Linked DNA regions of Homo sapiens: regions 2, 3, 4, 5, 6 and 7 are each linked to region 1. The links are contacts of gene promoters, found by promoter capture Hi-C in blood cells and fetal thymus (Javierre and others, 2016). All regions are on one chromosome and are shown on one strand. Each heading gives the region's core, a stretch centred on a gene start or on the middle of the fragment in contact. The rest is flanking DNA. Distances are from core to core; before and after follow the strand shown. Region 1 holds the start of MCF2L2 (MCF.2 cell line derived transforming sequence-like 2). Region 2 overlaps KLHL24 (kelch like family member 24). Region 3 overlaps MCF2L2 (MCF.2 cell line derived transforming sequence-like 2). Region 4 overlaps MCF2L2 (MCF.2 cell line derived transforming sequence-like 2). Region 5 overlaps KLHL24 (kelch like family member 24). Region 6 overlaps KLHL24 (kelch like family member 24). Region 7 overlaps MCF2L2 (MCF.2 cell line derived transforming sequence-like 2).

The links. Contacts are between HindIII fragments. The CHiCAGO score rates a contact against its expected background, and 5 or more counts as called.
Region 2: a contact is called between a fragment that was not itself captured here and the fragment with the promoter of MCF2L2 in region 1, in 2 of 17 cell types (M2 macrophages and M1 macrophages). The highest score is 5.7, in M2 macrophages.
Region 3: a contact is called between a fragment that was not itself captured here and the fragment with the promoter of MCF2L2 in region 1, in 7 of 17 cell types (erythroblasts, megakaryocytes, M2 macrophages and 4 more). The highest score is 9.3, in erythroblasts.
Region 4: a contact is called between a fragment that was not itself captured here and the fragment with the promoter of MCF2L2 in region 1, in 7 of 17 cell types (M1 macrophages, M2 macrophages, endothelial precursors and 4 more). The highest score is 11.6, in M1 macrophages.
Region 5: a fragment that was not itself captured here is called in contact with the fragment with the promoter of MCF2L2 in region 1 in 1 of 17 cell types (M1 macrophages); the score reaches 5.1 in M1 macrophages.
Region 6: a contact is called between a fragment that was not itself captured here and the fragment with the promoter of MCF2L2 in region 1, in 2 of 17 cell types (M1 macrophages and M2 macrophages). The highest score is 6.4, in M1 macrophages.
Region 7: a fragment that was not itself captured here is called in contact with the fragment with the promoter of MCF2L2 in region 1 in 1 of 17 cell types (M1 macrophages); the score reaches 5.1 in M1 macrophages.

Annotation. Positions count from the first base shown.
Region 1 is chr3:183,427,151-183,430,047 of GRCh38, reverse strand. MCF2L2 (MCF.2 cell line derived transforming sequence-like 2) reads left to right here and starts at 1,429. Exons shown (of 30, transcript NM_015078.4): 1 at 1,429-2,146. The coding sequence starts at 2,071. RefSeq lists a silencer at 1,600-1,679. The HindIII fragment of the contact is 2,747 bases long and covers 1-2,158 here.
Region 2 is chr3:183,680,827-183,683,723 of GRCh38, reverse strand. KLHL24 (kelch like family member 24) reads right to left here. Exons shown (of 8, transcript NM_017644.3): 8 at 1-2,897. Among named protein-coding and RNA genes, the nearest start is that of YEATS2, 16 kb to the left of the region's middle. The HindIII fragment of the contact is 3,164 bases long and covers 1-2,897 here.
Region 3 is chr3:183,179,247-183,182,143 of GRCh38, reverse strand. It overlaps MCF2L2 (MCF.2 cell line derived transforming sequence-like 2), which reads left to right. Exons shown (of 30, transcript NM_015078.4): 28 at 1,985-2,073; 29 at 2,452-2,567; 30 at 2,641-2,897. The coding sequence ends at 2,764. Among named protein-coding and RNA genes, the nearest start is that of LAMP3, 18 kb to the right of the region's middle. RefSeq lists a silencer at 2,794-2,883. The HindIII fragment of the contact is 8,037 bases long and covers 1-2,897 here.
Region 4 is chr3:183,196,561-183,199,457 of GRCh38, reverse strand. All of the region lies in intron 25 of MCF2L2 (MCF.2 cell line derived transforming sequence-like 2), which reads left to right. Among named protein-coding and RNA genes, the nearest start is that of LAMP3, 35 kb to the right of the region's middle. The HindIII fragment of the contact is 1,794 bases long and covers 643-2,436 here.
Region 5 is chr3:183,661,697-183,664,593 of GRCh38, reverse strand. KLHL24 (kelch like family member 24) reads right to left here. Exons shown (of 8, transcript NM_017644.3): 4 at 952-1,136. Among named protein-coding and RNA genes, the nearest start is that of KLHL24, 28 kb to the right of the region's middle. The HindIII fragment of the contact is 991 bases long and covers 1,018-2,008 here.
Region 6 is chr3:183,639,567-183,642,463 of GRCh38, reverse strand. All of the region lies in intron 1 of KLHL24 (kelch like family member 24), which reads right to left. Among named protein-coding and RNA genes, the nearest start is that of KLHL24, 5.4 kb to the right of the region's middle. The HindIII fragment of the contact is 1,399 bases long and covers 653-2,051 here.
Region 7 is chr3:183,214,187-183,217,083 of GRCh38, reverse strand. It overlaps MCF2L2 (MCF.2 cell line derived transforming sequence-like 2), which reads left to right. Exons shown (of 30, transcript NM_015078.4): 22 at 990-1,115. Among named protein-coding and RNA genes, the nearest start is that of B3GNT5, 38 kb to the left of the region's middle. The HindIII fragment of the contact is 793 bases long and covers 1,044-1,836 here.

The DNA.
Region 1 (2,897 bases), core at 180-2,679:
AAGTGCTGGGATTACAGGCGTGGGCCACTACGCCCGGCCTTTTAACCCTTTTTTGAATCTCTTGCAAAAGGTGGTTGTGAAAATGGTTGCTCAGTGGCCGGGCATGATCACTTGAGTCCATGTGTTTGAGACCAGCCTGGGCAATATGGTGAAACTCCATCTCTAAAAACGAAAAAAAAAAAAAAGAAAGAAAAGAAAAAGAAAATCCTTGCTCTGTTTTGCAGGCAGAGTGCAAAGTGCCCAAACTTCACAGGGGGAAGAACCTCTCCACAAATCTCATGACACAGGTGAACTGACCTCGCTTCTCAATCACAGCCCACAATTGTTAGAGAAAGCATTAAAAAGGGCTGGGCGCGGTGGCTCACGCCTGTAATCCCAGCACTTTGGGAGGCCAAGGTGGGCGGATCACGAGGTCAGGAGATCGAGACCATCCTTGGCTAACACGGTGAAACAAACCCCATCTCTACTAAAAAATACAAAAAATTAGCCGGGCGTGGTGGCGGGCGCCTGTAGTCCCAGCTACTCGGGAGGCTGAGGCAGGAGAATGGCGTGAACCCGGGAGGCGGAGCTTGCAGTGAGCTGAGATCGCGCCATTGCACTCCAGCCTGGGCGACAGAGCCAGACTCAGTCTCCAAAAAAAAGAAGAAAAGAGAAAGCATTAAAAAAATACCCTCAGCCCCCTGTGATGGGTGGCTACTCCTAGAATTTGGATCCAGGGTGTTTGCGGCTTGGCTTTTTACATATCGAAGAGGAAAGAGATGGCTGAGAACATCCGCCTGGGTGGTCCCGCCATTCCGCCTGCTGAGTATTCAGGGACTCCCGCTGTAGAAAGGATTGGGGGACAACCTGACCGAATTCGCATTTGCTCAGGCGTTTCCCGTAGCGCTCTGCTGAACTGGGGTTAGTCTTTTGCTGCCAGTCAGAAAGTGTCTGGGCCCAACTAGGGAAACCACGGGATAATGGGCTGATGGGGAGGAGGACCAGCATGGAGGATGTGCCACAGCCCCTCCAGAAGGTAGCACTGGCGTGCCTGACAGGTGACAGACGGAGCAGAGGCAAGGGCGCAGCTGCACGAAGGAAAACGCCCACATAGGGGGTGAGCGCGCCCACGCGTGCTCAGCCTTGTCGGAGCGCAGCCCGGGCGCCGGGCTCCCAGTGCAGGTGTGGCCAGCGGAGGTCAAGAACTGCGTGGAACAACCCCAAGTGGGGGAAAACACACGCCAGCCGCCCCCGGGGTCAGGAGGTGGGGCAAGCAGCGGCGCCTCACCCAGCCTCCCGCTCCGGGTCCTGCCGGATGGCGGCAGCTCTCCGGGCCAGCCCCCTTCTCTCCGCGGCTCCTCCGCAGACACCCGGCGCGGAAGAAGGAGGGGCGGAGACCTGGCCGGCGCGCGTCTGATGATCCGGACCCCGGTGCGACTGGAGCGCCTCAGTCACTGTCTCCCCGCCCCACGGTTCCGAGTAAGGACCGGAGCTCCACTCCGGGGGTGGAGCGCGGGCTCCCCGCAGGGAAAGGTGCGCAGCGTTCCCGACCCCAAAACGAGCGGCGCTTGGGAGCGTGCGTGCCTCCCCGAGAGCCCCGGGCGCCACCCGTGGGCTGGACGAGGTGGGCGCTGGGGCGTGGGGCCGGCGGCGCAGAGAAGCCACGGCCACCTGCCGCCTCCCCTGCACCTGGCGGAGCATCCCTCACTCTACAGTCCCTGGAGGCGGCGCCGGAAACCTGGCGGCCGGGACCGCGATTCTGGAAGCCCCGGAGCTCGCCCGGCCGGAGGAGCCGGGGCGCGGTTCCGGCGAGATTGGCGACTTGCTTCCTTTTGCAGAACGGCCGCTCCTCTCTCGGTCCAGCTGCGACGCTGGGAAAGCGCCAGACTTGGTCTGTCACGGGAGCCCCCGCGGGGCGTGGCGAGGGAGAGCTGGCCTAGGCTGCGAGGGACTCTCGTTTCTTGCCTGGAGAGCCAGGAAGAGGGCGAGGGCAGAGCATCCTTGGGCGGAGATGCCTTTAAAAAATCATCCACCGCAGCGGTAGAAACAGTTTTGTTTGGCTTTATTTATACGGAATGGTTTTTCAGTGAAATGCTGTCTTGCTTAAAAGAAGAGATGCCTCCCCAGGAGCTCACCCGGCGACTGGCCACAGTGATCACTCATGTCGGTAAACGAAGCTTTAATTTTTCCTGCGTTTTATTAATGGCGGGTGAGGATGGTCTCTGGGCTTCATCTGGCTCCTGGCCTCACCCGCTGCCCCGGGGCAGCGCGCTTCCTGGGGGGTTGCCCGGCATCTGGGCCTCGCTGCTCTGGGTCCTGCCTGCGGTGCCCAGCGGGGGGCATCCCTGGGGCGCGCCGCTGGTGGGGGTCGGGGGGCCGAGGCTGGTGCCTTCACCAGGTGGTTGCCGAGTCCGTTGAGCTCCAAACCGAGGGCTGCTGGGCTGTTACCATCCGTTAGCTGCTTCTGACGGGAGTAGGGTGGGTGGGAAGTTATGTTCTGGTTTTGGGGATAGTGAGAAAGGAGAGGGCATAAGAGGAACGAATGCCAGTGCTTTTCAGCAGAAATGATTGCCACGCCACTGAAGGCTTGTTTATAAGAAAGTGCAGGGAGAGGCAGGTTACATGGGAGCGCCCCTGCGCAGCTCGGCCGCTAGGCCTGTTTTACTGTGCTGCCTGGAGGGTTAAGCACACCCCTGATGATCCCCGCGAGAAATCTCTGCAAGCCAAGGAGACTGAGCAATTTTAATCTTCTTCCCTGAGTTGAAAAGAGGAGCAAAACATGCATTGCTTGCTCCTGAAATAAGGGTTGTGATGGAACGTCAGGCCCCACAGACTAAGTAAGGGCAAGAGGACATTGAGACAGTTCCCAGTCAGTTTTTTCTTAGCACTTTCTTCCCCTTGGCCTTCCCTGGACCTCC
Region 2 (2,897 bases), core at 241-2,740, 250 kb before region 1:
AATTCTTTTCTTTGGAACAATATATAAAATAAGTTATGAATGTTGCTGTTTTTATCAGCACTAGGAAAATTTAATATCTAAGGCAATCACACAAATGTAAAATGTTCATATAAAACATTAAAAAATGTCTAAAGTGTCTCTGGAATTATTCATTCACACTCCTGGCTCAAATGGTTTCTGGTGCCTAGCATTAGATGTGACAATAATGATAGCTAGCTAGTCAAACCTACTGCCTTAAAGATCAACCAATTTGCTCCATTCTGGTTACTTGGCATGGTAAATTTATTTAACTAAAAAGAATAATGGGGTGAGGTGATGTAAACCTGGCTTTCAATAAGATGCACAACAAATTCTAATAAGGCCAAAACTCTGTTGAGGTTAACTGGTGTCTTGAGTTTACTAAAATAAAGGCAGTCCATAGGAAGCCTCAAAGAGACATTATCTTACCACTTGGCACCACAAAAACACCAAGCTCTCCTCTCTGAAAATACAGGCCGGGGGTGGTGGCTCACGCCTGTAATCCCAGCACTTTGGGAGGCCGAGGTGGGCGGATCACGTGGTCAGGAGTGATCCGTCTCTACTAAACCCCGTCTCTACTAAAAATACAAAAAAATTAGCCGGGTGTGGTGGCACGCACCTGTGGTCTCAGCTACTCGGGAGGCTGAGGCAGAATCCCTTGAACCCGGGAGGTGGAGGTTGCAGTCAGCTGAGATCGCGCCACTGCACTCCAGCCTGGGCGACAGAGCAAGACCCCGTTCTCCCCCCTTCCCCAAAAAAAAAAAAAAACGAAAAAAATACAGTTTGAAGTAGATGTCGTCTTTTCCACATATAAATCTCAAGACATAAAAGGCACACACAATTCAACTCCTCTCTTTTCATATATGGGTTCTCACAGCAATTTAAAAAATCTATTGCCATATCCAGACAACAGGAGAAAAAAAAAATACCTGGTTTGCTTATTGACAAAAGTGGTGTAATTGAACCTTTGTCTTTCCTGAGTTTCAAAAAGGCTATTTGACAGTAGAGATACATAAACAATTCATATTCAGTAAGATAAAATGTATCAGTCCACAAAACATTTTCATCTTTTTAAGTATAAAAGAATCAATGTTCAACCACCACCATGTGTGAAGCCCCTTTTTCCAAATTAAACTTACTCTAGAATCATGAATTGAAGATTATTCAGTCATGGCACTTTACACCCCAAACGAGCAAAAGTAACAAGTTAATACCCTCCCTGAGTATTTACATCATCTTATCACCTGGTTTAAATGGAGTAAATACCTATATTTCAATCATCTAGGAAATAAAAAGGTTACTGAAGATCCAATACACTAGTATTTCATACCTGTGCAGTAAAGTCAGTGGGAAGATTACAGTAGAAAAGGAGGAAGTTCTACTGTTGTAAAAATTAGACCACTTTTGTAGCTGACTCACATAGAGGAAAAACAGAAAATGATTAAAGTTCATGAAAAAAAAACTATACTTTTCTGTTCTACAAAGCATACCTTTGAATTCCCTTTCCAACTGAGGTATCACAGCTGGGTTTAGCAAACTCATCTCTTCTGACCTTGTAAAACTAAATTGTCATAAAGATTCTGATTATACATAAGTCATCGTTACTAATACTCATCATGTACTTTCAAATGTAAAAAGTTCTAGAAATGCCCAAATAAAAAAAAATTCCAGAATTGAATTTAGCATGGTCAACTAATTTTTACTTTATGTGCTTTTTTGCTGATCATCACAGACTGCTAAAATTCATGGTGTTTGGTATATATGTGTGTATACAACCATACTATCTACATACATACACATGTACATATATAGATTCTAAACCAAAGGTTCATATGAGCATCACCTATCAAAAGAAAAATCTTTATGTGATGAGAGAATGAATACAATCTGACACCAATTTGGTTGATATACCCCTTTTGATATATTAATTCTACTCTAAAATTCTTTTTTATTTTATCAAGTCTAATGCTATTATTTATCAAGAATTAGTAAAGGAAGATAAATATTAAAAAATTAAAATATTAAGTTGGGTAACTTTAAAAATAGTTATTTAAATTTTCTAAGATTCAACCTAAGTTCTTGGTGGCCTTCAATATAAATTTTAAGTACTTAATTTATGTAGTTTTAAATTATGTAGAGAAAAAATTAATATTGGTGTGAGGTCTGTGTTTAAAAAAATTCTGTTTTTCAGGATTTCATTTCAAATTTACTATAATAAACACATGGATATTAAAATAAATGTATAACAAAATAAAAGTAAATAGTTAATACTTTTTACAACAGAAAAATACTAGAATATAAAGTTGTCTTGAGAAAGTCTTTTTTTATGTGAAGTCCTATATTCATGAAATGGACATGATCTTACAAATACACATGAAAATAACAACTATCATTTGTAGAATCCTCAGCATTTACAAAATACTTTTTCACACATTATCTCATTTACTGTAAAGAATTTCTTAACTAAATAATTCTATTATCTATAAGAGTATAATGCAGATGTTTACTCTAAAATTAAAGTACAAGTATCCAAACTGTACCTACATTCTTTCAACTAAGAGGATAGAAAATTGTTTTCTGAATTGTTGTTATCACAAAATGGTATCTATCATTTTAAAATTATGATTTGAAAAATAAAAATTCCCTAAAAATTTTTAAGTTTTTTAGAGTTTTCCTCAGAATGTAGATTCTAGCTAAGCATTAAAGTTTAAAAAATGTCTATCTGAAATCTCTGAATCATTCTAAAATGAGAAAACAATGTAGCTTACCAATGTTAGGCTTTTTATTTCAACCTTGGTTTTAACAGAAATCTGGTGACACTTTAATTACATATTTGCATCATCCCTTCTATCACAAGAAATATACAAATTATAATGTGA
Region 3 (2,897 bases), core at 276-2,775, 250 kb after region 1:
GAGGAAACAGTTGACTGTTTCAGATGACCCTGAAACAGTTGAGTCCAGGGTCTGAGAGCCCCTCTGTGCCCAGCGCTGTGCCCCCTTCCCTTCCCCGCTTCCCTGCAGGGCCCGCGAGAGCAGGGAAAGCAGCTGCCAGCTCCAGGCAGTCATTTTACCCCAGGTGCCACTTACCCTGCAGAGGGGCTGGAACCAACTAATCATTTTACCTGGAGGTACCACTTACCCTGCGGAGGGGCTAGAGCTTGTCAGGTTTTTCAGTTCCTGTGTCGCCTCCCAGCCCTGCCCACCCCAGGCTGTGGCTGCCTATGGCTGACGAAGGCTCCTGAGCCAGGCCCAACCGCCAGCCTCCCAGTGGGTGGCTCTATGGTCCCTAGCAGCCCTGGCATCATCCGGGGCACAGAGGCCATGGACCCTGGAGACACAGCCCTTCCTATTCATGCAGGGGATGGTCAAGGGCATGGCTCCCTCTGTCCCTCTATCCCTCCATCACAGAACTTTCAGCAAGACAATCATTCTTCCATTCTCACTGCTTGCTCCTGGCATAAGGGGACCCCAGGGCTGGATGACTTCTCTAAAGAGGAGTCTTGGGTTTCCTTAGATGCTCCCAAGTCCTGTCTGGAGGATGAAGGCAGGGGGCACATCCCTGAGGCAGTTTCTCCTCTGCCCTCCACCCCTTGCCCCTCCCACCTCCTGGGACTAGGAACTCAACCAGGACTTGCTTCAACCTGAGAGGAGGGTGTCCAGCCCCCTCGGAGCCTGCCAGAGTCAGGCAGGATTTCAGAGGGGCCTCCAGGGAGGTGCTGCCCAGCTGCCCCCCCGCCCCCATGTTACTCACACAGCCCCCACTGATCTGCTCTGGGGAGGGCCTGGGGCCCAGAACGTGGCTTGTTGGGGGCTTGGGGCAGCAGCCCAGGAGACGCTACTTGTGCTGCCTGCTCACCCAGATAACTGCAGCTCCCTCCACTGCCGCCTACCGCCCTCTGGCCATGCCTCTGCCCAGAATGCCCTCCCTCTCCAGTCCTGTCTGCCCCTCAAGTCCTGCCCAAACCTCCCTGAATTCTCGCCTGAGCAGACACTTTCCTAGCACGGCTCCCGCCGCGTAGACTACTCAGCTGACCCTCGGTCTGGGGCTGTCCTGTGTTGGGACCTTTCTGCAGATGCTCTGCTCCCTACCCTGGCTTGTGAGCCATGTGGGGCAGAGACTCCATCTCACTCAGAGCGAGGGTAAAGAGCAGGAGTGCTGGAGAAGACAGCTGCCCTGCCACAGGCCAAGAGGACTTGGCCAAGTGACCATTGCTGTCTGTTTCCCCAACTGTAAAGGGGGCTGAGACCCTTACAGGGTTGTGAGGCTTAAACTTTGACAAATGCCTAACATACCACCAGGCACAGGGCAGTTGTTCAGTATTTGGCAGTGGCTGCTGTTCCCCACAGTGTCCAACACCGCCCCAGGGATGTAACATGTGCGCCATAGACAAGACTGATGGATTAATTAATCAGTTCACTGCAGAGAGAGGCAGGATGGATGCACTTGCTTGTTCCTCTGATTTTCCCTTATGGGGAGCAGTGACACTTGGCAGAGGCTGCCAGGGAGATGGGAAATGGACATTAATTAGGGGAGAGAAAAGGAGGCAAGGAGGGGAGGGTGAGAAAGAGACAGGGGAGGAGGAAGGGAAGGAGGCGTGGTTAGAAGACTGGCAAACACAAAAAACAATGACTGTTTTCTTGGAGGAACGGGGAGGTAGGGCCATGAACAGCATGTGGACGCGCCTTCTCGGTGAATTACGGCATCTCGGCGCTGGAAAAGCAGCCTGGAGATCACAGACCCCCTCACAGCCCAGCGCAGTGCAGGCCCTTGGAGAGCAGGAGTTAGAGATGGGGAGGACCGTGCCTGCAACAGGCACTGCCTGCTACACCCTGCCATGGGCAGAGGGGATGTCCTCCCACCCCACAGAGGCCCCATCCTTCCCTTTCTCTCCCTAAGGCTGCTCCAGCAGGGAGTTTAGCTCCATGGACACCTTTGAAGACTGTGAAGGCGCAGAAGACATGGAAAAGGAGAGCAGTGCTCTGAGTGTAATTACTTCCCTTTTGTTTCTTTCATCTTCTTCCCTCCTTCCTATTCATCAGCTCCTCCTGCCTCCTGTCCCTAGCCTCCATCCCTCTCCCCCTCCTCAGGATTCTCACCCATAAGGACCTGGTTAAGCCAGGGAGCCGAGGTCACCAGACCCTCAAACTGGCTCTGACCCTCCTAGTCCAGCATGTCCCCACGTGGCTGTCTCCTTGGCGGTGCGCTGGTGTCCGGTCATAACTGGGGCTCCCGCTGAGAGCCCCGTGGCCCAGGTGGGAGGGCTGGGGTGGGCCTCAGCCTGCCAGCGGGAGTCACCACCTTGCCCGGTCTGGCCACAGCCTCCAGCAATAACTCTGAGGGTGCACCCGTCCCCTCCCTTCCAGCTCGCGGGCCTTTTCCAGTCGGACGACAGTCACGAAACCTGTTCCTCCAAATCTGCTTTCCTGGAGAGGGGAGAAAGCAGCCAGGGAGAAAAAGAAGAACGCGATGAGGAGGAAACGTGAGTGTGAGCGAGGAAAGACTAAGCGCCTCTTTGGGCCACGGCGTCTCTGACTTTCTTCTCGGAATTGCAGGGCGACCCGCAGCACCGAGGAGGAGCGCGCTGGGGCGTCCACGGGCCGGCTGGCTCCTGCGGGGGCGACGGCTGGTTTCCAGGCGAGGGCGCTGCGCCCGAGGACCTCCGCCCAGGAGAGCTGACCTCCCTGCGGACGCCCCCGCTCCTCGGCTCCAGAGCGCCCGCATTCCCGGGAGAGGCGGTGTGGGGGCCCGGGCCCTGCCCAGCTACGCAGAAAGCAGCCGGAGCCTCGGCGGCGGCAGAAAGGGGACAACC
Region 4 (2,897 bases), core at 290-2,789, 230 kb after region 1:
CAGGCTTTATCCTTTCACTTTGTTTGCAGGGATATTTGGTGGGAAAATCCACAGCGAGCTTTATCAATTGAGTTCTGACCTTCCCCTCAGGTAATGTTACTAGGGTGAAGAAATGCCAGTTTCATGTGGAAAGTCTATCTTCCATCATTTATACTGGCAGTGGTTTGCATTTTGGGTAAGAAAAATCACATAAAAATGAAAAGATAACTTTTTTCTTTAGAGATAGCAGGAATGCAACTGGCTCACACTTTTTCTAGGTCTTCTATGATCATCAGCTGCTCAGGAACGTGCAAAGCTGGGTGTGCATCATAAGATAAGGGAAAAGGTAAACCAAGCAGTGTAACTGGAAAGCCACCACATCAGTTTTCTGTCACAAAAACCAAGCAACATAAGTTCTTGATTTAAACTGTAGGTAACTGCCAGGAACTAGTAACAATATTATGTCATTGATTTTACTTTGTATACAGATAAGATGGGAAAAAAACTATGGTTTACTTTTGTTTTACAACTATTAATATTATGTTAAATATATGTCATGGTAATTGAGTAGGAGTGTCCTAGAGGCTTAACACAGAATGATATGGCAACTCTAGTAGAAAAAGTCACTTGTTCCCTGCAGAAACAACATTCTAGTCACAAGCTTGTTTAGAAATCCTTACTCACTAGGTCAGTGTTTCTCAAAGGGTGGTTTAAGGACCACCTGCATTCAAATTATTTGAAGGGCTTGCTACAAATGCAGATTTCTAGGTTCCACCCCAGAACTATAGAATAGCTAGGGTTAGTCCTGGGGACATACATTTTAGCTTATTAAGGTTTCTAGGTAGAGACCTTTTACTACAATTTTTAAAACTCCTTTACTGAGGTATAATGACACGATAAACCACACATATTTAAAGTGTACAATCTGATAAGTTTTGACATCTGTATACATCTGTAAGGCATCACCACAGTAAGGATAATGAACATGCCTATCACCGCCAAAGGTTTGTTCACACTGCTTTGCATTCCCTTTCTCCTGCCCCTCCCTCACCCACCCCAGGTGACCACCAATCTCCTTTCTGTCACTATAGGTTAGTTTGCATTTTCTAGAATTTCATAAGAGATAATACACTATGTACTTTTTTTTTTGGTCTGGCTTCTCTCCTCTGCATAATTATTCTGAGATTCATCTATTTGGATTTTGTAAACAATAGTACATATTTTGGTTGTTGCTGAGTAGTATTTCATTGTTTGGCTAGACCCCGTTTTCTTTATCCATTTACTTGTTAATGAACATCCGATTTGTTTCTGCTTTGGGGCTATTTTGAATAATGCTGCTATGAACATGCAAGTACAAGTCTTTGTGTGGACATGTGTTTTCATTTCTCTTGGGTAAATACCTAAGAGTGTAATGGTTAGGCCATATGGTAGGTGTATGTTTAATTTTTTAGGAAATTTCTAAATAGTTTCCAAAGTGATTATAGTATCTTCCATTCCCATAGTAATGTATGAGAGTTCCACTTGTGCCATGTCCTCACCAATACTTGGTATTGTCAGTCTTTTAAATTTTCAGATTTCTAATAGGGGCATAGTGGTATGTCATTAGGTTTTAATTTGCTTTTCCCTAGTAACTAATGGTTGAGCATCTCTTTATGTGCTTCTTTGCCATCTTTATCTCTTCTTTGGTGAAGTGTCTGTTCAAATCTTTTGCTCATTGTTTTCTTATTATTGACTTTTGAGAGTTTTTATGTATATCCTAGATATATGTCCTTTTAATGCTTTGTAAATATTTTCTTCTAGTGTGTGGCATCTTTTTCTCTTAAGAGTGACTTTTGAAGAGCAAAAGACTTTAATTCTTATAATATTTAATTTTAAAAACTGTATGTATCATGTTTTCGGTATCCTGCCTAAGAAATCGTTATCTAAAAGCCATAAAGATTTTCTCCCTGTGTTTTCTTCCAGAAGTTTTATAGTTTTACATTTAGGTCTCTGATCCATTTTGAGTATTTGTTTGTTTGTTTGTTTGTTTCTGTTTTTGATTTGTATGTGGTGTGAGGTATGGATCAAAGTTCAGTCCTTTGCATACTGATGTTCTAGTTTTTCCATTGCCAGTTGTTAAAAACACTATTCTTTCTCCAATTGATGATTTATGTAAGTGCATCTATTTCTGGATGCCTGATTCTTTTCCATTGATCTATTTGTCTACCTTGACATCAGTCCCTCACTATCTTGGTTACTGCTGCTTTCTAATAAGTCTTAAAATGAGGTAGTTAGAGTCCTATAATTTTGTTCTTCCTTTTTAAAGTTGTTTTGATTATTCTGTGTCCTTTATACTTCTATATATATTTTAGAATCTGCTTGCCAACTTCTCAAAAAACCTTATTGAGATTTTGATTAGGATTATGTAAAATCTCTAGAACAATTTGGTGAGAATTGACTTCTTAACAATATTAAGCTTAATCTAAAATTTATATTTTAACTGACTCCCCTGCTGCCTTCCTGGCCCTGCAAAAAAAGACAAGTTTGTTATGAAGATATGACACTTATTCAGTTGACAATTCGGAAAGAGATTTCTCAAGCCCTCCTTAAGGCCTGAACTGTGCTTTATAGGTTGTGACAGGAATGCAAAAATCTAGATAAGAAGCAAAACCAGGACCCAGCACGTGGTTTAGATAAAAAGAAAACACTACTGAACTGAAAGGCCCAGAGGTGTTGTGCCAGCCCCTTCCTTTTACAGATGTGCAAGCAGAGGGTCAATTTTACATAACTTATCCGCAGCAGAACTGAGTCTCCTGAGCCTGGTGCACCAAGTAGGCTCTGATGAAATGTCTCTGTGAGTGATGCAAATGGCAAGGGCTTTAAGAATTTAGAGAGGGCCCACAGTGGATGGTGAGTGAGCGGGAACCAGGGCCCTGGGC
Region 5 (2,897 bases), core at 264-2,763, 230 kb before region 1:
AAGGTTTTTTTTTTAATTGACCGATTTTTCAAAAAGCATACTATTGTAAAAAATAAAGTATGTATTGTTATATTTCTCAGTGTGGATAATATATATAATAATCTGCAAAGCTGGTGAAATTATTTTACCAATTAACAGACTTCCCATCATAGATACTATAGTTATACTTTGTACAAGTCTGTCATTTTATTTTCTAATTTTAAAGGTAACATATCACAATCATAAAGAAGTTCAAGTTAAGAATTTTAAAGCAAATCTTATTTCATAAACTTTGCGGAGAATTTCAGAAAACATGGGTGAATTAGAAATGCTTAATTCTATGAGTACTTCTGACTTGCAAAGAGGTAAAGTTTAAAAAATTACAGCATATTCTACATGCATTTGAGAGCATTTAAAATATGACATGATTAAAGGTATCTTCTGGTGGATCTTTTGTAAATCATTCCATGTCATCTTGTACCTGTGTTTTTTTTGTTGTTGCTTTTTGTTTGTTTTTTGTTTTTGAGGCGGAGTCTTGCTTTGTCACCAGGCTGGAGTGCAGTGGCGCGATCTCGGCTTACTGCAATCTCCGCCTCCCGAGTTCAAGTGATTCTCCTGCCTCAGCCTCCTGAGTAGCTGGGACTACAGTTGCCCACTACCACACCTGGCTAATTTTTGTATTTTTTAGTAGAGATGGGGTTTCACCATGTTGGCCAGGATGGTCTCGATCTCCTGACCCGGTGATCTGCTTGCCTCGGCCTCCCAAAGTGCTGGGATTACAGGCGTGAGCCACCGCGCCTGGCCTTGTACCTGTTTTTAAGAGCAAAAAGTCATTCTTGGTTTTATTTGTTGTAAACTGATCTTCCTCAAGTGGGAGTATTCACATTTCACTATTTTAAGACACTGTTGATGTTTAAAATAATGAAGCTGTGTCCAAATTAAAAGTAGCTACTGTAATAATTCTATATTTACCTGAAACAAGAATGTCATTCCTTAGAGCACAGACTGCATACTCTGATTTGGTAAATTCTGGAAGCTTAGCCAAAGACTTCCATTCTCCTGTTACAGGATCGTAGCACTCAGTGTATGGAAGATTAAATCCTCCAACTCGCTCACATCCTCCAACGACAACTATCACCTCAGAATAGCCAGTGGACCTAAAATAATAATTATTAGCGTACATAAATAATATAATAATATTACATTAAAATATACTCCAGATTTTTTCTTAAAACTCTAAAAACAAACCACGCACTATTATAAACAGTTAAGTTTCTTCTCTGTGCATGTGCCAAACGGTACAGCCTGGAAATTACTTACTTTGAGAACGTTTATAGGGGAGCTAGTGACATCATTATTCCACAGAAAATTTCTGTTGCTATTTTTTTCTATTGGTTTTGACCTGAAAATTGTAAAAAAGTCCAAAGATCCTATCTAACCCAATCAGAATCCTGGCAATATTAAGGATGACTTTCAAATGCAGTTTTGCAGTGATTCAGATACGCATAACCACACAAGGTAAGATAATGCATTTTTTTCTAACTGTAGGAAAATGGTGCTCTTTCATCAGCTTGCTAGTTCTAAAAAACTAATTCATAGTATAATCCAAGCACCCTTTAAAGGAATATGTATATGTACTTGTTCAGAAATTAGTTTTTAAAATACAAAGTCAAGTAAATTAAGGTAATACAACTCAAAATGTTGGGCAATCACTAAAAAGGCTAACAGTTTATAACAAGAATGTTAAAGGAGAAAAGCAAGATGAAAAACTGTACATTAGGCATATTCAATACTATCTAAAAAATGTATCTGGAAAGAATATACCAAAATGCTAAAGATAGTTGTCTCTGAATTGTTTGGCTCCCCCCATTTCTATCATTACAAATTTCCAAACCAATAATGAGCCTGAGCTATTTTTAGAATGCAAAAAACAGCATTTAACACCACTAAAAGAATTCTAATGTTTCTGTTAATCACTGGCTTCTCTCATTTTTTAGATTTAAAATAGAGACAGGAATAACCAAAAGCTTATCCACAATTTTTTGTTCATAAAATTCAATTGATAGTTTAGGAATTTTAAAATTCTTTAGCTTTTATATTTTTCACAAATATAATCTAAATGAAAATGTTTTATAGTTACATTTTATGGTTGCTACAAGTTAAGTCTCACAAAGAAAAATGCCAACAATCCTTCTTCTCTTACTTATAGAGGGGAAAAAAAAACCCACATCAGGACACTGATTTGTAATTTTAGTCAGTGTGCTGTTACACAATTACAGTAGGAAAAAACAAGCAATATTGGCGTGTCTCTTTTAACAGAGCTGTTCTAGCTACATTTACTCAGACCTATGTCAACTAACCAAATCACGTACCTATTCTATGCCAGGCATACTTTTTCCGTTATAAAATCAGAAATAAATATGGGAGAAAAGAATTTTCTCTATACATGCAAACAAAAGTACTTTTAGGAATCCAGGAAATTATATAACCTTTACCTAGTATTTAGTAAAACATTAACAGAAGGACCTAAATATTATCAGTAATATTTACTATTTTCCAAGTAATTCCAAAATAAAAGTATTAAAAATAAAGAGAGCACAGCACCAGATACTTTAGTAGTATAACTACTGACTTATCTATCATTCTTTCCATATAAGTATTTCCTAAAACACACTTAAAATCTAAGACAAATCCTCAAAAAAGGTGATATTCCTCAAAGTCTTATTTATTAATCAATCAAAACAAACACTGCTAGTCACTGAAGTTAAATCACTTCTGTCTTAATATAAAATCCAGAGTAATGATTATATATCATAGGATTTTGTTTTATCCTTTCCTTATTGTACATTACTTGGTTTATACTTTCCCTTTGCTTAAACTCGCTTGCCTTTTTCAAGACTTCTTAGCCCAATAAACAT
Region 6 (2,897 bases), core at 103-2,602, 210 kb before region 1:
AGTTTAGACAAATTCAAAAGTTGATTCCAAAACCAAATATAAACGACCTTTTTTTTAAATGTATACACACAAACACATATGTATACCCAGACTGTGTTATGATCATCAAGTGAATGCTATCCTGTGTTTCCTTACTTTCAGAAGTGAACCTGACTTGTATGTACCCTTGGTAAAAAAATATTGCAACTAGGGCAAATTTGGGAATTGTTACTCCTAGCTAAGTAAATCTTCCTTCCCAATGGACAATAAGATCCTGAATCAATGCAGGGATGCAGGTCAATTCATGAAACATTTATAAAGAACCTAGTTTATGTCTGTCACTGGCTGGCAAATACTGGATTCAGATCCAATTTTAGACTCTGTGGGGTTGGCTAAGAGTAGAGCCAAACAAGAACTCCAAGATTGGTACTAAAATAGATTCAAATTCTTAGCAGGTGCAGACTGGAATAGAGCCTCTCATAACCGATCTGGTCTAGAATTATACCTTATGGGGTAGAAAGCATAAGGCAATTCACCTGGACATTTTCTATGGATTTTTAGGTAATACCAACCTAATCGGTAAGGGTAAGGGATGGAAGAGAGAGGGTACAAAGTCTGATGGAGATATGTAATATCAGAATTAATCTACAGCGTGAGTGTACTGAAACAAGCTTATGTTTCCTTTAGAATGCAGAAATTCTATACGATGAGGTTACTAACATCCTTAAAGATAGTATGGATTAATGAGGGGCTTCTAAAAACTAATACCAGAAAACAAAGGAACCAACAACATCCTGACTAGCATGGCCCCTAAAACTTGTAGTAGAGAACTGCTGCATACTATGTTCTACGCTACTCCATTTTCTCAAATTTAACCTTGAAAGAACACCACAGGAGATGAAAAGAAAGGTTAACCAAGAGGTTTATCTTGAAAGATATATAGTAACTCAAAAGAAAGAAAGTCAGAAAATAATTGCAATATAGTAAATCTTTTTTTTTTTTTTTTTTTTGAGACAGTCTCACTCTGTTGCCAGGCTGGAGTGCAGTGGCATGATCTCGGCTCACTGCAACCTTCACCTCCTGGGTTCAAGCGATTCTCCTGCCTCAGCCTCCCATGTAGCTGGGACTACAGGTGTGCGCCACCATGTATTTTTAGTAGAGACGGGGTTTCACCATGTTGGCCAGGATGGCCTCGATCTCTTGACCTTGTGATCCACCCGCCTCGACCTCCCAAAGTTCTGGGATTACAGGCGTGAGCCACTGTGCCCGGCCAGTACATCTTTTATTTAAAAAATAACCAGAAAATCATATATAATAAGGTACTATACAAAACCAAGCAATTTTTATACATTTCAGATATTTTCACCCTATAGTCTCAAAAGCTAATTTATTTGATGACTTTTTAAAAATCATAAACTTGCACTATCAAAATTTCAGTTTAAAGAATTACTCTGCAGCAGTGGTTCCTGGACCATGTTTTACAAATGTAATGTTTAAAGCCCAGCCTTCAAGCTATTTTCAACATTTCCAGTTTCTTAATGGAACCACCAAGACCATATTTACCCACCACAAGATAACAGAAACTGGCTGGCCGAGGTGGCTCACGCCTGCAGTCCCAGCACTTTGAGAGGCTGAGGCAGGCGGATCACGAGGTCAAGGGTTCGAGACCAGCCTGGCCAACATAGTGAAACCCCGTTTCTACTAAAAATACAAAAAAATTAGCCGGGTGTGGTGGCGGGCACCTGTAATCCCAGCTACTCAGGAGGCTGAGGCAGCGGAAATGCTTGAACCCAGGAGGCGGAGGTTGCAGTGAGCCAAGATGGCACCATCACACTCCAGCCTGGGCGACAGAGCAAGACTCTGTCTCAAAAAAAAAAAAAAAAAGAAAAAAGAAAAAAGAAAAAAAAGAAAAGGTAACAGAAACCAACTAAAACCTTGAGTTTCTTTGGATAGAATGATAGCAACTATGGATTACCCCATATTTATTAGAACCTCAAATGGGCAATATACTATATGACTTTGCTTGATGAGAAACAAAACAGATAGCTGTTGATGACAAATTTAGGAAAGCTTAAACAATGTGTCAGACTAAACAATATGGTTCTTTAACTAAAAAAGAATACTATTGTCTCTTAAATCACAGGAAAAAAAATATGAATTTCTCCAGTGTTTCTCTCCCTCGACTTAAAACTTCTGGCTACTGATATTCCCCAACCCTAAAGGAAGAAAAAAACTTGTTAACCATCAGACATCACACGTGGTATACCAAGCTGCCCTATTGAGCCTACTCATGCTTCTGACTAGACTTGATGTGTAAATTTACTGTTGTTTGGTTTTATCTTGCTAACATGTTTCTTTTAGGTATTTAATGCATTGTTTTATTTGATAATCAAAACACCTATAGATATATGATATAGTTATGTTTTCTGTTAGAAAAATGGTTTTGGTTATTTATTTATTGAGATGGAGTCTCGCTCTGTCACCCAGGATTGAGTGCAGTGGCACAATCTTGGCTCACTGCAACCCCCACCTCCCGGGTTCAAGTGATTCTCCTGCCTCAGCCTCCCGAGTAGCTGGGATTACAGGAGCGTGCTACCACACCAGGCTAATATTTTCTGGGTTTGTTTGTTTGTTTGGTTTTTAGTGGAGATGGGGGTTTCACTATGTTGGCCAGGCTGGTCTCGAACTCCTGACCTGGTGATCCACCTGGCCCGGCCTCCCAAAGTGCTGGGATTACAAGCGTGAGTCACCACGCCCAGCCCGGTTTTGGTTTTTTAATTAAATCTGCAAGGATGCCAGCAAGGAGCTCTGCCACCTGAACAAATTTGAGATTTTTTTTTTTTTTTTTTTTTTTTGAGACAGAGTCTTGCTCTGTCACCCAGGCTGGAGTGCAGCGGCGCGATCTTGGCTCACTGCAA
Region 7 (2,897 bases), core at 191-2,690, 210 kb after region 1:
GACCTCAAGTGCTCTGCCTGTCTCAGCCTCCCAAAGTGCTGGGATTACAGGCATGAGCCACCCGCCCGGCCATATGGTATTTTTTTTTTCAGTAAGCCCCAGGGAATAGGGGTATAAAAGAGAGAGAAGCCTATTTAAAAGGAGCTAGGTTTTTCCATGCTTTAAAAAAGCTAAATTCTGGCCAGGCACAGTGGCTTACGCCTGTAATCCCAGCACTTTAGGAGGCCAAGGTGGGTGGATCACCTGAGGTTAGGAGTTTGAGAACAGCCTGGTCAACATGGCGAAACTCCGTCTCTACTAAAAATACAAAAATTAGCCAGGCATGGTGGCGCACACCTGTAATCCCAGCTACTCGGGAGGCTGAGACAGGAGAATTGCTTGAATCCAGGAGGCAGAGGTTGCAGCGAGCCGAGATCGTGCCTCTGCACTCCAGCCTGGGTGACAGAGTGAAACTCTCTCTCGCTCTCAAAAAAAAAAAAAAAAAAAAAAAAAAAAAAAAAAAATATATATATATATATATATATATATATAATATATATACTTATATTTTATATAATATATAATATATAAATATTTAATATATATAATTAATATATAAACATATAATTATATATTAATATATAAATATTTAATATACTATATAAATATTTATATAATATATATACACATAAGAAACATATAGAATTCAGCTATATAGCTGAATTCTATATGTTTCTTATGTAGCAGGAATATAATTTCCATGATTTATGAACTTCATTCGTCACTAGTACAATGCACAGAGGTAGATGATTTTGCTTGTCTCTATGCCGTATACCTAAATCAGTAAGCATCTTTAGCCACCATGCTTTGGGAGCAGGGAGACAGATCAATATCCACCCTTCTCAGTCAGGGTTGGCTGGATCCCTGGCTCCTCATCTCTGTCCTGTTTTCCTTCTTCACTTTGCAGATGGTATACTTTTGATTTCCAACAAGGCATTTGTTTTCCACAGGATGGGCCAAAGAGAACCAAAGATTCAGCATTCTCAACTGAACTACAACAAGCTTTGGCAGTGATAGAGGATTTGATCAAGTCCTGTGAGTTGGCTGTGGACCTAGCAGCAGTGACTGAATGTCCGGTATGTTCCATAGTAGTGTTAGAGCATCTCACACAAAAGGCAGGTGCAATACTACACAGTGAGGAAATGCTCTGGCAAAGTCAGAGAGATCGTCTATGGTAAAGGAATTGGACTCTGAGGACAGTCGCCTAAATTGCTCAGTAAACCCGCACTACAAGATTCCAAGCTGTCCCTTGGCATCTTCAGGAATCTTGGATTTATTCCTCAGGGTTCTGAATGTGGGACTGACCCACTGTCTGGACAAACCAGAAAGTCAAGGGCCAGAACATATATGGGCAGAGGAAAAGTCCTGGAGGAGCAATTTATTTTCTAACTCATGGCACTATTAAAATAGTAAAAGATTTGTCTTCTTGTTTCAGAGTTTCTCTAAGAAAAGTATTTTGGAAACAGGTCCTATATTCTTGCCCCAATTTTATATCACAGATCCCAGAAGAGGCCCCAAAAGTATATAGTGTACATGCATTAATCCAAATAGTCTAAAGAAAACCCAAGAGATGCAGTTAGAGGCCAATGCTGGGGAGTTGAGCTCCAGCGTCAGTGTTAATCCGGAGCAGGCTGGTCCCAGGCATTCCAGGCAAAACATCCCCTATAACTGTATGATCTCTTTGAGACTGGAGCATAGTTAATATTCGACTTGTTTTGTTTTTTACTTTGAAGTACTCTAGATTTTTATTCAGATGTGTTTGTTTTATTTCACTGTCATAATAAATTACCATAAGCTTGGTGGCTTAGAGCAGCACAAATTCATTATTATTATTATTTTGAAGTTCCAAGGTCAGAAGTTCAACACAGTCTCATGGGCTAAAATCAAGGTGTTTCCTTTCCTTTTTGGAGTCTAGCATCTGTCTCCTGGAATTTTCCAGCTTAAAAAGGCCACCCACGCTCCATGGCTCATGGCTTCTATGAGCAGAGGTAATAAAGCACAAACCAGCAATGGCAGGTTGGGTTCTTCTTCTTTTTGTTTGTTTGTTTTTGAGACAGAGTCTTGCTCTGTCGCCCAGGCTGGAGTGTAATGGCATGATCTCAGCTCACTGCAACCTCTGCCCGCCAGGTTCAAGCGATTCTCCTGTCCCAGCCTCCTGAGTAGCTGGGACTACAGGCACTTGCCACCACACCTTGCTAATTTTTTTTTTTTTTTGTATTTTTAGTAGAGACGGGGCTTCTCCATGTTGGTCAGGCTGGTCTCGAACTCCTGACCTCGTGATCCACCCATCTCCGCCTCCCAAAGTGCTGGGATTACAGGTGAGAGCCATCGTGCCCGGCCAAGTTTTTCTTACATCACATCTCTGTGACCCCCTCTTCTGCGTTTTTGTCACTTGTGATTATATTATACTTTTTCCTTCTCTTTTTTTTTCTTTTCATTTTTATTTGGTTTTGAACATACCATGTATTGAGGTCTTGGTAGAGGAAATGACTTTTCTTTCCTTGTCATAAATCAAACCATGAAAGTTATTAAGGTCCGAAAAATGAGTTATTTTTACTTCCCACGCTGGTATTTCTTGGGCCTGGATCTCAGAAACTTAGCCCCATGGGGTTTGCTGTGATCCCAGCCATGATGCTGTTACTGTCCCCTGGGACTCCAAGGTGTCTCTGATGACAACTGATGCATGATTCAAGAGGATATGCATAAACTGCAGAGTAGGGTTAGGGTGTGTATAAGGATCATTTTCTTGGTAATAATTCTTCTTTCTTCGCCTGAGGAAAGTCAAGGGAACAATTTGTTAGGTCAATCCAGGGCATCTTTCTGTTCCTTTTTAAATCTTGAATTACGTATTAGACATC